Regions from separate parts of the Homo sapiens genome. Here all the other regions are linked to region 3. Evidence: promoter capture Hi-C in 16 types of primary human blood cells and fetal thymus (Javierre and others, 2016). All regions are on one chromosome and are shown on one strand. The core of a region is centred on a gene start or on the middle of the fragment in contact, and the rest is flanking DNA. Distances in the headings are between cores, read along the strand shown. Region 1 holds the start of SENP7 (SUMO specific peptidase 7). Region 2 overlaps TFG (trafficking from ER to golgi regulator). Region 3 holds the start of CLDND1 (claudin domain containing 1).

Region 1 (3,625 bases), core at 34-2,533, 3.0 Mb after region 3:
CCTGCCTCAGCCTCCTGAGTAGCTGGGACTACAGGCGCCCGCCACCACGCCCGGCTAATTTTTTGCATTTTTTAGTAGAGACGGGGTTTCACAATGTTAGCCAGGATGGTCTCGATCTCCTGACTTTGTGATCCGACCGCCTCGGCCTCCCAAGGTGTTGGCATTACAGGCGTGAGCCACCGCGCCCGGCCAATAAATCTGTAATTGTTAACTGTCTCTGCAGAAACCAACGGTACCATCAGAAACAGAAAAATGAAATGAAATAATTGATTCATTGGGCGTTCGTTTGTGTACTGGACTGTAAGCATATGAGTCCTCGTCCTCTCCTCCTACCATCCATAGGACTTAACACAAGGACTTGAGGACCCCCTAATGGATGAAATGTTTGATAAAAACTTCTCAACTGGGAGGAGCTCTACCTCACGTTTTTATAACTCCACTTTCTTGTTTCCAAGACGTTGTACACAAAACTGAAGATAGTCATTTAAAACAAAGTAACGTCCAAAACAAAAAATATGCTGAAAATAAAAACACAACGAAAGCACGGCTTCAAATCCTTTGTTTGACTTTCCAATCACTTTTGGAAGACGCAGGGTAGGCTGGAAAAGAAAAAGGCTATTAGGCGGGCCTGTTCAGCAGAACGAGACCCGGAGAGGCATTGTATCAAAGAAAAGGAGTCTCCGGTCGCAAGCCCCACCTTTCCTCCCCAGCAGCAGCTACCTGCTGAGGGAAAGAGGAGGGAGAGGGGAAGGGACGCAAAGTCGAGAATCAAAGGAAGAGAGGAAAGTGGGGTCAGGCGCTGAGAAGCCGAAATGAAATTGGAACATTGGTGGAATTACGAGGAAGGCGTGGCAGAGAGTGACAAGCCAACCGGGAAGATCCATGGGCCGATGAGACGCAAGGAGGGTGTTCGCGGGAGGAGGGAAAAAATAAAAGGGGTTTTGAGGTGAAGAGCGCCCGAGGCTTCGATGACAGCTCGGACCGGGTCTTCGACTCCAGGGGCGGGGGCGACCCGGGAGCCTTCCATTGTGCGCGCCCCTTCCTCTCCCCGCCCCCGCCCTCGCCCCCGCGGCTTCGGGCCGCAACCCCAGCTGCCGCCTGCGCCTCCCGTTTCCCCCGGGTAGGAGACAATATGTTCAGCCCTTCTCTGACCCTTTCTCACCGGATGAAGATGGCCGTCGCCCGAGCTTTCTCTTGTCCATCTTCTCCCGCTGCTGAAATTTCAGTTGCAGGCGCTGTCACCTCAGGACCCCTCCGGCTTGGAGAGGGAGGGGGAGGGGAAAGGAAAAAAAAAAAAAAAAAAAAAAAAAAAAAAAAGCCCGCAAAGTGCGAAGCGCGCTTGCGCAAGAGCCGTCGCCTGCCCTTCGACCGGAAATCAGCCGCCCCTCCCACCTTCGACCGGAAATCACTTCCTGGGACTTTTCACTGTGGGCTGCCTCTTCCAGCGTTTTTTTGGTGGCGTTTATTTCATGATCTGAGCCCCTCTGGGGAGGTGAACCACCTGGGTGCTCGATTTTAGCTTTGTTGACTTTGAAGATTAGATTGACAAAAATTAAAAGGGAAAAACAGGAACTCCTCCGGTTCACTGGATCTCGCGAGGTGGCCAAACAACTATGAAAACAAAACGTTAGCGTTTGCAGTATTACATCCCTCACAGCCTCTCTTACATATTTGCCCCCAACGCCTTTCCTCGAACTCAGAAACCAAAAGATTTTAAGATGGCAAAATCACCTAATAATAGCCTAGCTATTAGTTTAGCATTTGCTGTGGAAATATGTCAGCAGACGAGGAAAAATGTCTTAGGATTCCTTTTTAAAATTCGAACTTGTGATTTTTAAAGTTCCTTAAAAGAAAAGCTAGAACTTAATTTTTCAATAACTGAAATGCTGATATGACAGAAAGTGGGTGGCTATAAACTTGGAATTTGTTCAATTAACATTTACCACGATACTTAAGGGACTAATCCAGTCCTCAATGAACTCAAGGTCTGGTACTATTAGCCTGATTATCCCTAATGGTGCATATCTGAATAATTTTTAAATGCACGTGTAAGCTTTCATGACGATTTAATCACAAGTTTAACAAAATTCAGCACAGTGCTCTAAGCAGGGAAAATGTTTCTGGCATGTTCAAAGCCCGAAGGGACTCTGGAAGTAGGGTTTGATTCCCAAGCTGGCCCCTTTATACCCCTAACGCCTATCCCTCCAACCCCCATCTCCCATCCTAACGGAGTCAATAAAGGGATCGGCCCAACTCGTCCACTAGAGCAGTCCCCTTCATCGTGAGTTAAGCCTTCTTAATTATAATGTGGTCAGTCCCCAGGTAGAGGTAAGGCCCCAGGTGTTGTGGGGTGTTGGGCCTGGGGAAGTGTTCTACATGGCAGGAATGACTGCAAAGCAGAAATACTTTAAGTCTTGCTGGGATTGAAGTTTACTGTAAGGATTTCGTTTTATTTGGTTAATTTCTGTTTAACAAAAACATTGCTTTCTGAAAAATAATTGAATTTTCAGTTTCCTCACAAATTAACTTTTTTTTTTTTTTGAGACGGAGTCTCGCTCTGTCGCCCAGGCTGGAGTGCAGTGGCACAATCTCGGCTCGCTGCAAGCTTCACCTCCTGGGTTCACGCCATTCTCCTGCCTCAGCCTCCCGAGTAGCTGAGACTACAGGCGCCCGCCACCACGCCCGGCTAATTTTTTGTATTTTTTAGTAGAGATGGGGTTTCACCATGTTAGCCAGCATGGTCTCGATCTCCTGACCTCGTGATCCGCCCGCCTCAGCCTCCCAGAGTGCTGGGATTACAGGCGTGAGCCACTGCGCCTGGCCCAAATTAACTTTTTTAACTAAAGAACTTAACTGATTCTAAAGTCAAGCTGGGCCGGACACAGTGGCTCGCGTCTGTAATCCCAGCACTTTGGGAGGCCGAGGCAGAATAGATTGAGCCAAGACATTCCAGACCATCCTGGGCAACAAAGCAAGACCCCCCTCTCCACAAAAATATACAGGCCAGATGCTATGACTCACCCTTGAGCCCAGGAGTTTGATACCAGCCTGGGCAATATAGTGAGACCTCCTCTCTACAAAGAAAAAAACTAGCCACACGTGGTGGCGCATGCCTGTAGTCCCAGGTACTCAAGAGGCTAAGGCAGGAAGATCACTTAAGCCCATGGAGTTAAAAGTTGCAGTGAGCCTTGATCAGGCCACTGCATTCCAGCCTGGGCGACAGAGCCAGACTGTCTCGGAAAAAAAAAAAAAAATGACCCGGGCACGGTGGAGCACACCTATAGTCCCCGGCTACTGGGGAAGATGAGATTTAAGGATTACTTGAGTCCAGGACTTTGAGGCTGCAGTGAGCTATGATCGCTACACGGTACTGCGGCCTGGGCGACACACAGATACCCTGTCTCCAAAAAACATAAAAAATAAACTTCCCAGACGATTCTGTTGCATACTCCAATTTGGTAAAACCAACACTTAGTGACATCTGCTTTTTTCTTTTTCCTATCTCTAATATTCTTTTTTCTATGTGTCCTTGCCTCTGGTGGATTAAATACAACTTTTTTGTTCCCTAGGGAGAGGTGAACAGTGAGGAGGGACATTATGTACTTTCATCTTATTTTGAAATTTC
Region 2 (4,002 bases), core at 531-3,030, 2.2 Mb after region 3:
AAGCTTAACTCTTATACCTTGGGCCGTCAGGGGCTTGGGAAGTCTCCCTTCAGGATTCATAATTGTGGTCCTTAGGTGAGTTGGGTTTAAATTTAAACTATCCATGTAGTTTGGTAACTCCCAAGCCCAGATGTTACCATTTTAGAAAAATCTCAGAAGAAAGGCCAAAATCTCTCTTGAGGGGTATATTCTCAATCCAGGTCACATAGGTTTCTCACAGACAAAACCGTAAGACACATGAAGCTGTCAGGTAAGCAAGAACCACTGGACACAACTAATAGCAGGATTAGATTTTCAACAACTTCAGTTAAGATATGTGATAGTCTACAAAATTAAAAGTTATTTAAGACATAGAAGAAGGAATAAGAATATAAAAGCAGCCGGCCGTGGTGGCTCACGCCTGTAATTCCAGCACTTTGGGAGGCCAAGGCGGGCGGATTGCCTGAGTGCAGGAGTTCGCGACCAGCCTGAGCAACACGGTAAAACCCTATCTCTACTGAAATGCAAAAAATTAGCCAGCTGTAGTGGTGTGTGCCTGTAGTCCCAGCTACTTGAGAGGCTGAGGCAGGAGAATTGCTTGAACCTGGGAGGTGGAGGTTGCAGTGAGTCGAGATCGCGCCACTGCACTCCAGCCTGGGTGACAGAGTGAGACTCCATCTCAGAAAAAACAAAACAAAACGAGAACATAAGAGCAAGATGCTATTGTATTATGGAAAAACAATAAACAGATTTTATAAAGAACTTAAAGTAACTTGGAAATGAGAAATATAATCATTGAAATTAAATACTAAGTGGATAGGTTAAACACATTAGTCATAGCTAAAAAGAGAATTAGTGAACTGAAAAGGAAATCCAAAGAAATTACAGAGTAAAGCACAAAAACACAGGCAAAAGAGAAGTTGAAAATGAGAACATCCAGAATATTTCTATTCAGAGTTTCAAGAAGGAGAGAATGGGAGAGTGGAAATACATTGAGGTAATGACTAAAGAAATTTTCAGAGTTATATAAAAGCTATAGACCCTCAGATTCAGAAGGCACGGGGAGCCTTGAGCAGGGATAAGTAAAAGTAAATCCCCACTGGACATATTGTCATGAAACTGGAAAATGTCTTAAGACAGAGAGATTACCTTAAAAGTAGCCAGAGAGAATAAGACTGATCACATATGAAACAATTAGACTGTTAGTAGACTTCTTCATAGTAATAATAGAGGCTAAAAGACAGTATTATCACAGTTGCAAACAGTAAAGAAAAATAACTAGAAAAGTAGCATCCTATACTCCACTAAATTTCACGAATGAGGAGAAGTAAAAATACTTTGAAAGACTGAGAATTTACCACTCATGGACCCTTGTTAAAATAATTTTTAACAGTGGTCTTCATCAAGAAGGAAATTTAGTCCAGAAGGTGGTGAAAGATGCAAGAAGCAATGTGAGCAGATAAACTGTTGCTTGGTCAGTAGGCTATGCTTTCAAAAACTATTTTAGAAAAGCTTTTCCATTGATACAGAAAAAGTCAAGGAAGCTTAACTCTTAAACCTTGGGCTGTCAGGGGATTGGGAAGCACCAATGAAATTTATGTGTACGTTTTAATGAGCATTGATTGTTACAAAATTAATAGTCTTAGGGAATAAAAACAATTTGGGACAAAAATACTGGGCAATAATATGTAAGAAAGGAAGGGATGATAGGAATAAAAATATTTTAAGGACTTATTTGGGAGGAACATTGTAATTACCTTTAGATTTTTTTAATTGCATACTACATATGCAGAAGTATGCATGGTGTACATGTAAGAGTTATAATTGAAAAATTAGACATTGTCAGGAAAGGAGAAAAAAAGAAAACAAGGGTACCTGTTCAGTTCAGTAGAAAGTGGTGGCGGAATAAAAGAGGTAGAAAGCTCAATAGATAGAACAGAATACTAATCACAGTACACAGAAATTGACTACATATATCGGTTAAAATAATCTCTTAATGGAATTTTAAAAAAAATCCAGTTCCATGCTACTTCCAAGAGACATAAAAGATTATTATGCAAAGCTTGAAAGTAAAGGGCTAGGAAAAGAGACTAGACAAATGCAAAGAAAGCTGGTTATTAACAGAATAGACTTATATAAAAACTTGAGTAGTAATAGTCACTTTATGATGATAAAAAGAATAATTCACTAGGACTATATAGCAATCTGAACACTTATGCATGTTAGCTTTAGATGTTTTCCCCTAAGAAAAATTGACAGAACAAAGAGAAATCAATAAATTTACAATTATGGGAGAGCCGATAAATCAAGCAGGCTCAAACAGCGTTGGTCTTGTACATCTAGCAGTTAGGGAGAAATACAGTTTTTTTTTTTTTCGAGTACTCATAGTGCATTATAGAAGTTGACTGTAAGTCAAGTCTTCCAGAAAATCCCAAAATGTAACAGATAATTAGATATCTTAAAGGTCATATTCTCTGGCTTCTTTAGAGACTATTGGACAGAATATGTAACCCAAATTTCCCTACTTTTGGAGACAAAATATGGTTTTAAATAAGTCAAAGAAGAAATAATAATGGGAATTATAAATAAGTAGATAATGACTTCTATGTAACCAAGTTTTTAGAGAATGCTAAAGCTGTACTTAGAGTAGTACTTACAGCCTTAAATACTTTATATTAGTAAACTGGATTGGAAATTTTTGAGCAAGGTATTCAAACAGTTACAAAAGGACAAACCTCAAATAACTTGGAAGGAAATAATAAGAGCAGACGTGAACTAGAAATTGGAATTGTTAGGATCAACAATTTTGAAAAGATGCAGTTGGCAAATCTTTATGAGGATTAGTTAAGGAGAAACAAGGCACAAATAAGCAATGTTAGAAATGAAGTTTATAGTAGAAACTTTAAAAATTTATATATACCATGAATTCCTTTATTTAAATTTGAAAACTCAGGTGACATGGACAGTATCCTAGGTAAATTTAATGTACTGTTTCAAGAAGTAGAAAAATTGGTTGCCCCAATTAACATTAAAGAAATTGGGCCAACTATTTTACCAAATATCTAAGGAACAGATGATTCTAAATTATACAAACTATTCAAGAGCATAGGCAAAGAGGGAATATACACTAATTCATTTTGTGGGGTTAATATAACATTAACATGAAAACCAGCCAAGGAAAATGCAAACCAGTGTCACGTATGAACATAGATAGAAAATATTAAGTAATATTTACAAATCAAACTCATCAGTGAATATTTAAACACACCAGTGTCAAAATTGCTCACCCAAGGAGTCTAAGATTGCTTTAAATTAGAAAATCACATACTATTTTCCATAAAACAGATTAAAGGAGAAAAACTAGATCATCTCTAGATAAAGAAAAGCCATTCATATCTCAATCATGTTGAAAAGTCGTAGCAAACTATGAATAAAAGGGAATTCTTTTTTGTGAGGCAGAGTCTCTCACTGTTGCCCAGGCTGGAGGGCAGTGGTGCGATCTCAGCTCACTGCAAGCTCCGCCTCCGGGGCTCACCCCATTCTCCCATCTCAGCTTCCCGAGTAGCTGGGACTACAGGCACCTGCCACCACGCCCGGCTAATTTGTTTTTGTATTTTTAGTAGAGACGGGGTTTCACCGTGTTAGCCAGGATGGTCTCGATCTCCTGACCTTGTGATCTGCCTGCCTCGGCCTCCCAAAGTGCAGGGATTACAGATATGAGCCACCACGCCTGGCCAAAAGGGAATTCTTTTACCTCATATGGGGGCATTTATTACGTAGAACAACTGCTGTATGCCTAATATAAAAGGATTATAAATGTAACTAAAATACCTATTATAATTATATACAACAAAAGATACTTGGGATAAATCTAACATGGCAAGATTGTTTTGGATGAAACATAAAATTTTTTAAAATCAAGTAGGGGAATGGGTTTTGAGGAAAGGTACTCTGGGAGATTTAATTATGTCTATGCTGTTTCATTTCTTAGTGGTTAGGAGCAAAGATGAAAAAAATACTAAG
Region 3 (3,767 bases), core at 394-2,893:
TAATGAATTCATCCCAGATGCTTTTATTCAAATCACTGGAATTTTCTTGAACTGGACTTCGATATTCATACCAGAAGTCTGTGCCAATGGAGGCTGCCATGTAGATGGTGGAAATGAGGCTAAGCACACAAGCAATTACAAATGCTGTAGCAAAACGGTTATCCATTCTGGCATTCAGACTGCTCTGTTTAGAAGTTGAAGAAAGAAGATAAGTTAGAGTTTACGGACAAATAAGAAAGATTATTTTGAATTATTCCAAATGCACCCTTTACCCAATTCCCCATCCCTTCGTACATATAACCATTAAGAATTTTTTTTAGAAAGCAAGCATGTTTTTAATTAAGCTTAAAACAAAACTCATTCTCATAAAAGTACTTATTGAATGCTCACATACCCAGGATGCTACGGAGACAGAGGTCTTGTTCTCTAGTCTATCACCTGCATACTAAAACAGACAACACTGAAATGGACATACACATTACAGATACAAACAATAGACATGCCCATGGTCAGCAGTGTACCGTGCACACATTTTAAATTACAGACTGAATTTTTGCACGAGCTGCAGAGGATTAAGTGTTCTGGGTTTGAGTGTTAAAAAGGCACAGGAAAAAGAAGCAGTGGAAATTGGCTTCTCCCAGTTTCCTCTGAAGAGGGAAGCCTCCTAAAACAAAGGTAAGAGTCAGGAGCCATACAGAAAACAGAGTTGAAGATGTTTGTTAACCCCGAGGGAAAGGTTGTTCTAGGTGTATAAAATAGCAAAGAGAACAATAACATGTAATAATGCTAGATAGCAATCTCTCCCTAATCCATTAAAGCTAAGCCAAGCTTCTTTACGCTGCCAAATGCTTCACTCCTATCTACTCTCCCGATTCCTTATACTTCTGAACCTCCTCAACAGAAATCTTGCTCTCTCCCTAAATCCTCAGTGCAACATACGTCCGCAAAAACTAAATGATCCCTCCTCAGCCAGACAGAAAACTCTCAACATATCAACACTCCCAAGGCGTGGACAGGGCTCAACGGCAGTAGTAAATGGCCGCGGTAAAATGACTCAAGGCAGATCGCGCTGAGTCAAATACTACACGGCAAGTATACACCGTGACCGCACCAAACACCTTACAAAGGTTCATGAAAACAGACTCGCAAACTGGGGTTGCTGAGTTTGGAAAATGGGAAGTGACTCAGGAAAGATAAGAGCAATGACAACGAAAACTCAAAAAGTTGGATTTGTATTTTGATTTTTTAAAAATCCCCCCTTCATCCTGGTGCTCTCAAATGACCTTAAAGGGTCCCAGCACTGGGAACGGCGGTTCGTCCAAGCCGGACGCCTGCAGCAGCCACCTCCTGGGCCTCACGGCGGGGCCGGAGAAGGCCAGGGCTGGGGCGGGGCAGCCGTGCTCGGCCCCGGGCCAGGGTCCCCCGGTACCCGACCAGGCCCCGCCCTAGAGGGCTCGGCCCTGGGACAAATCCGCCGCTCGGAACCCGCCCAGCCCGACCACGCCCGGGAAGGGGGCCCCTCTTCAAACCGCCGGGAACATGGAACCGCGACGCGACCCCTGCCCGGCGACGCAGGTCCCGCTCACTCACCGCCCATCCTCCTGCTCCGCCAGCTTCACCCTCTAGCTCAGACCACAGCACCCTACTCTCCCCGCGCCTCCTCTGACGCACTTCCCTGCAGAGCCCGCCCCCTCCATAACTCCCGCGCCTCCGCCCGCCCCCACTCCGGGCCGGGCCGCGGCCCGGGGCCGAGGGGCCTTGTGGGAGTTGTAGGAGGGACAGACTGAAAGCTGTCTGAGGCGGCGATAGGCATTCCTGGCGCCGCGCGCGGCGCATTGTGGGAGATGTAGTTCAGCTCCTCAGGGCAAGCCGGTACGCAGAAGGGAAGTCTAGGCTGTTGGATTCTTGCATTTTAGGGAGGAAGGGAGAATGGTCCAGAAAGTAAAGCGGGCCTGTTTCCGGTCATCTCGAGTCAATGACCGTGACTTGTATAACTTAGATCTGACTTTTAGGCCTGTGCTTTCCCTATCACACCACCCTGCCTCTAGATCTAAGTATAAATGAACAAAAATGGGATTCTACTTGTGAAACGTTGACCCATTTTATTTCCCTCTCCCAGAATCCCTCCCATTGGAGCAGAGCATCCTTCTGGTTTTATTGCATAAGTTTAGGCTAAGAAGTATGTGACCTGGCAGACAGTATCCATCAAGAATGTAATGATATTATTTGGGTTTCATAAAATGTGTTTGTAGCTGCCTTCTTTTTATGACAAGTGATACTAGTTTTCTATTGCAGCAATGTTGTTCCTTTTAAATTCTTTTCACTTATTTTAAAAACTATTAAGTTAATAATACTGAGGATACCAGATATGTCAAAAAATGAATAAAAAATTGTGGGTATAGTAGGAAAAAGACTGAAATTTGGGGAACATCACTCAAGCAGATAAGGTCATGGACAGCATTGGAGATTGCAGATGATGTGTGGCACAGGGGCAACAATGATTCTGAACCCTCAGGTTTAACACAGAAATTCATGGACAGGAAGCAGGGACATCTTAACAATAACATGAGTGGAACTATTAACGTGGCCTGGGACCAGCAAATGGTGGATTTCTCAACAGTAACCGACAGAGAAAGCTGACTCAAGGACCAGAGGGGCTCTCAAACCCCCACTCTGTCCCCTAATGCCTTGTAATTTAGCATAGGAGAAAGATGGGAGCTGCAAGTTGATATTAAATTTCTACCACTTTGACAGATTAAAGGCATGATATGTTTCTCTATCTGTACTTACATTTCTTTGACCTGAGTGGGTGAAACTGATATTCATATGCAGCACATAATAAGGTAGTAGCCAAATATATTCAAACATGACTCTGGATTTTCATATACAGCATATAATCAAAAAAAAATTTGTCAGAGGCACCAACTAGAGAAAGTGATGGAGAGGCACAGGCAAATTGTCAATGTGTAGTAAGACACATAAATGCCCTTATACTCCAGGAAATGTCTTCATCCATTGGCCTTCATTAGAAATCCCCTATTTTCCGCCGGGCATGGTGGCTCACGCCTGTAATCCCAGCACTTTGGGAGGCCGAGGCGGCAGATCACGAGGTCGGGAGATCGAGACCATCCTGGCTAACACGGTGAAACCCCGTCTCTACTAAAAATACAAAAAAATTAGCCAGGCGTGTTGGTAGGCGCTTGTGGTCCCAGCTACTTGGGAGGCTGAGGCAGGAGAATGGCATGAACCCGGGAGGCGGAGCTTGCAGTGAGCCAAGATCACGCCACTGCACTCCAGCCTGGGCGACAGAACAAGACTCTGCCTCAAAAAAAGAAATTCCCCACTTTCAGATTTACCTCTCCACTGAGATCATGTGGTCAGTAAACCAGGCAAAAGAGAAGTTTAAAGGAGAGAGAAGAAACAACTTCAGTCTACAGATAAAGGAACTAGAGAGAGTAACTGACTTGGTAGCAAACTTGGATATTAGAGTAACTGACTACCATGGTAACACACTTGAATATACTCATTTTGTGACTTTGGAGAATTAACCTTCTTTAAGTCTCGGTTGTCTTTTCTCCAAAATATGGATGTTGACAGTAGCATCTATCCCACATGATCATTGTGAAGATTGAGAAAAACATATAAAACGCCCAGCACAGGACCTGAGGTTTAGGAAAGAATCATTAAGTTATTAGTATTTGCAAATATTTGTTGAATATAATATTTGAGTAAGCTTAGTGAGAACAGTCTTTTTTTTTTTTTTTTTT

Evidence for each region. The method cuts DNA at HindIII sites, captures the fragments that hold promoters and counts their contacts. A CHiCAGO score of 5 or more calls a contact.
Region 1: the fragment with the promoter of SENP7 here is called in contact with the fragment with the promoter of CLDND1 in region 3 in 1 of 17 cell types (total B cells); the score reaches 5.3 in total B cells.
Region 2: a contact is called between a fragment that was not itself captured here and the fragment with the promoter of CLDND1 in region 3, in 2 of 17 cell types (total B cells and non-activated CD4 T cells). The highest score is 6.3, in total B cells.

What each region holds. Positions count from the first base shown.
Region 1 is chr3:101,511,929-101,515,553 of GRCh38, forward strand. SENP7 (SUMO specific peptidase 7) reads right to left here and starts at 1,284. Exons shown (of 24, transcript NM_020654.5): 1 at 1,163-1,284. The coding sequence starts at 1,202. The HindIII fragment of the contact is 4,750 bases long and covers 1-2,051 here.
Region 2 is chr3:100,721,491-100,725,492 of GRCh38, forward strand. All of the region lies in intron 3 of TFG (trafficking from ER to golgi regulator), which reads left to right. Among named protein-coding and RNA genes, the nearest start is that of TFG, 14 kb to the left of the region's middle. The HindIII fragment of the contact is 518 bases long and covers 1,522-2,039 here.
Region 3 is chr3:98,521,259-98,525,025 of GRCh38, forward strand. CLDND1 (claudin domain containing 1) reads right to left here and starts at 1,644. Exons shown (of 5, transcript NM_001040181.2): 1 at 1,591-1,644; 2 at 1-184. The coding sequence starts at 166. It overlaps CLDND1-AS1 (CLDND1 antisense RNA 1), which reads left to right and starts at 1,312. Exons shown (of 2, transcript NR_198998.1): 1 at 1,312-1,575. RefSeq lists silencers at 1,091-1,200, 1,251-1,890 and an enhancer at 3,093-3,222. The HindIII fragment of the contact is 2,905 bases long and covers 827-3,731 here.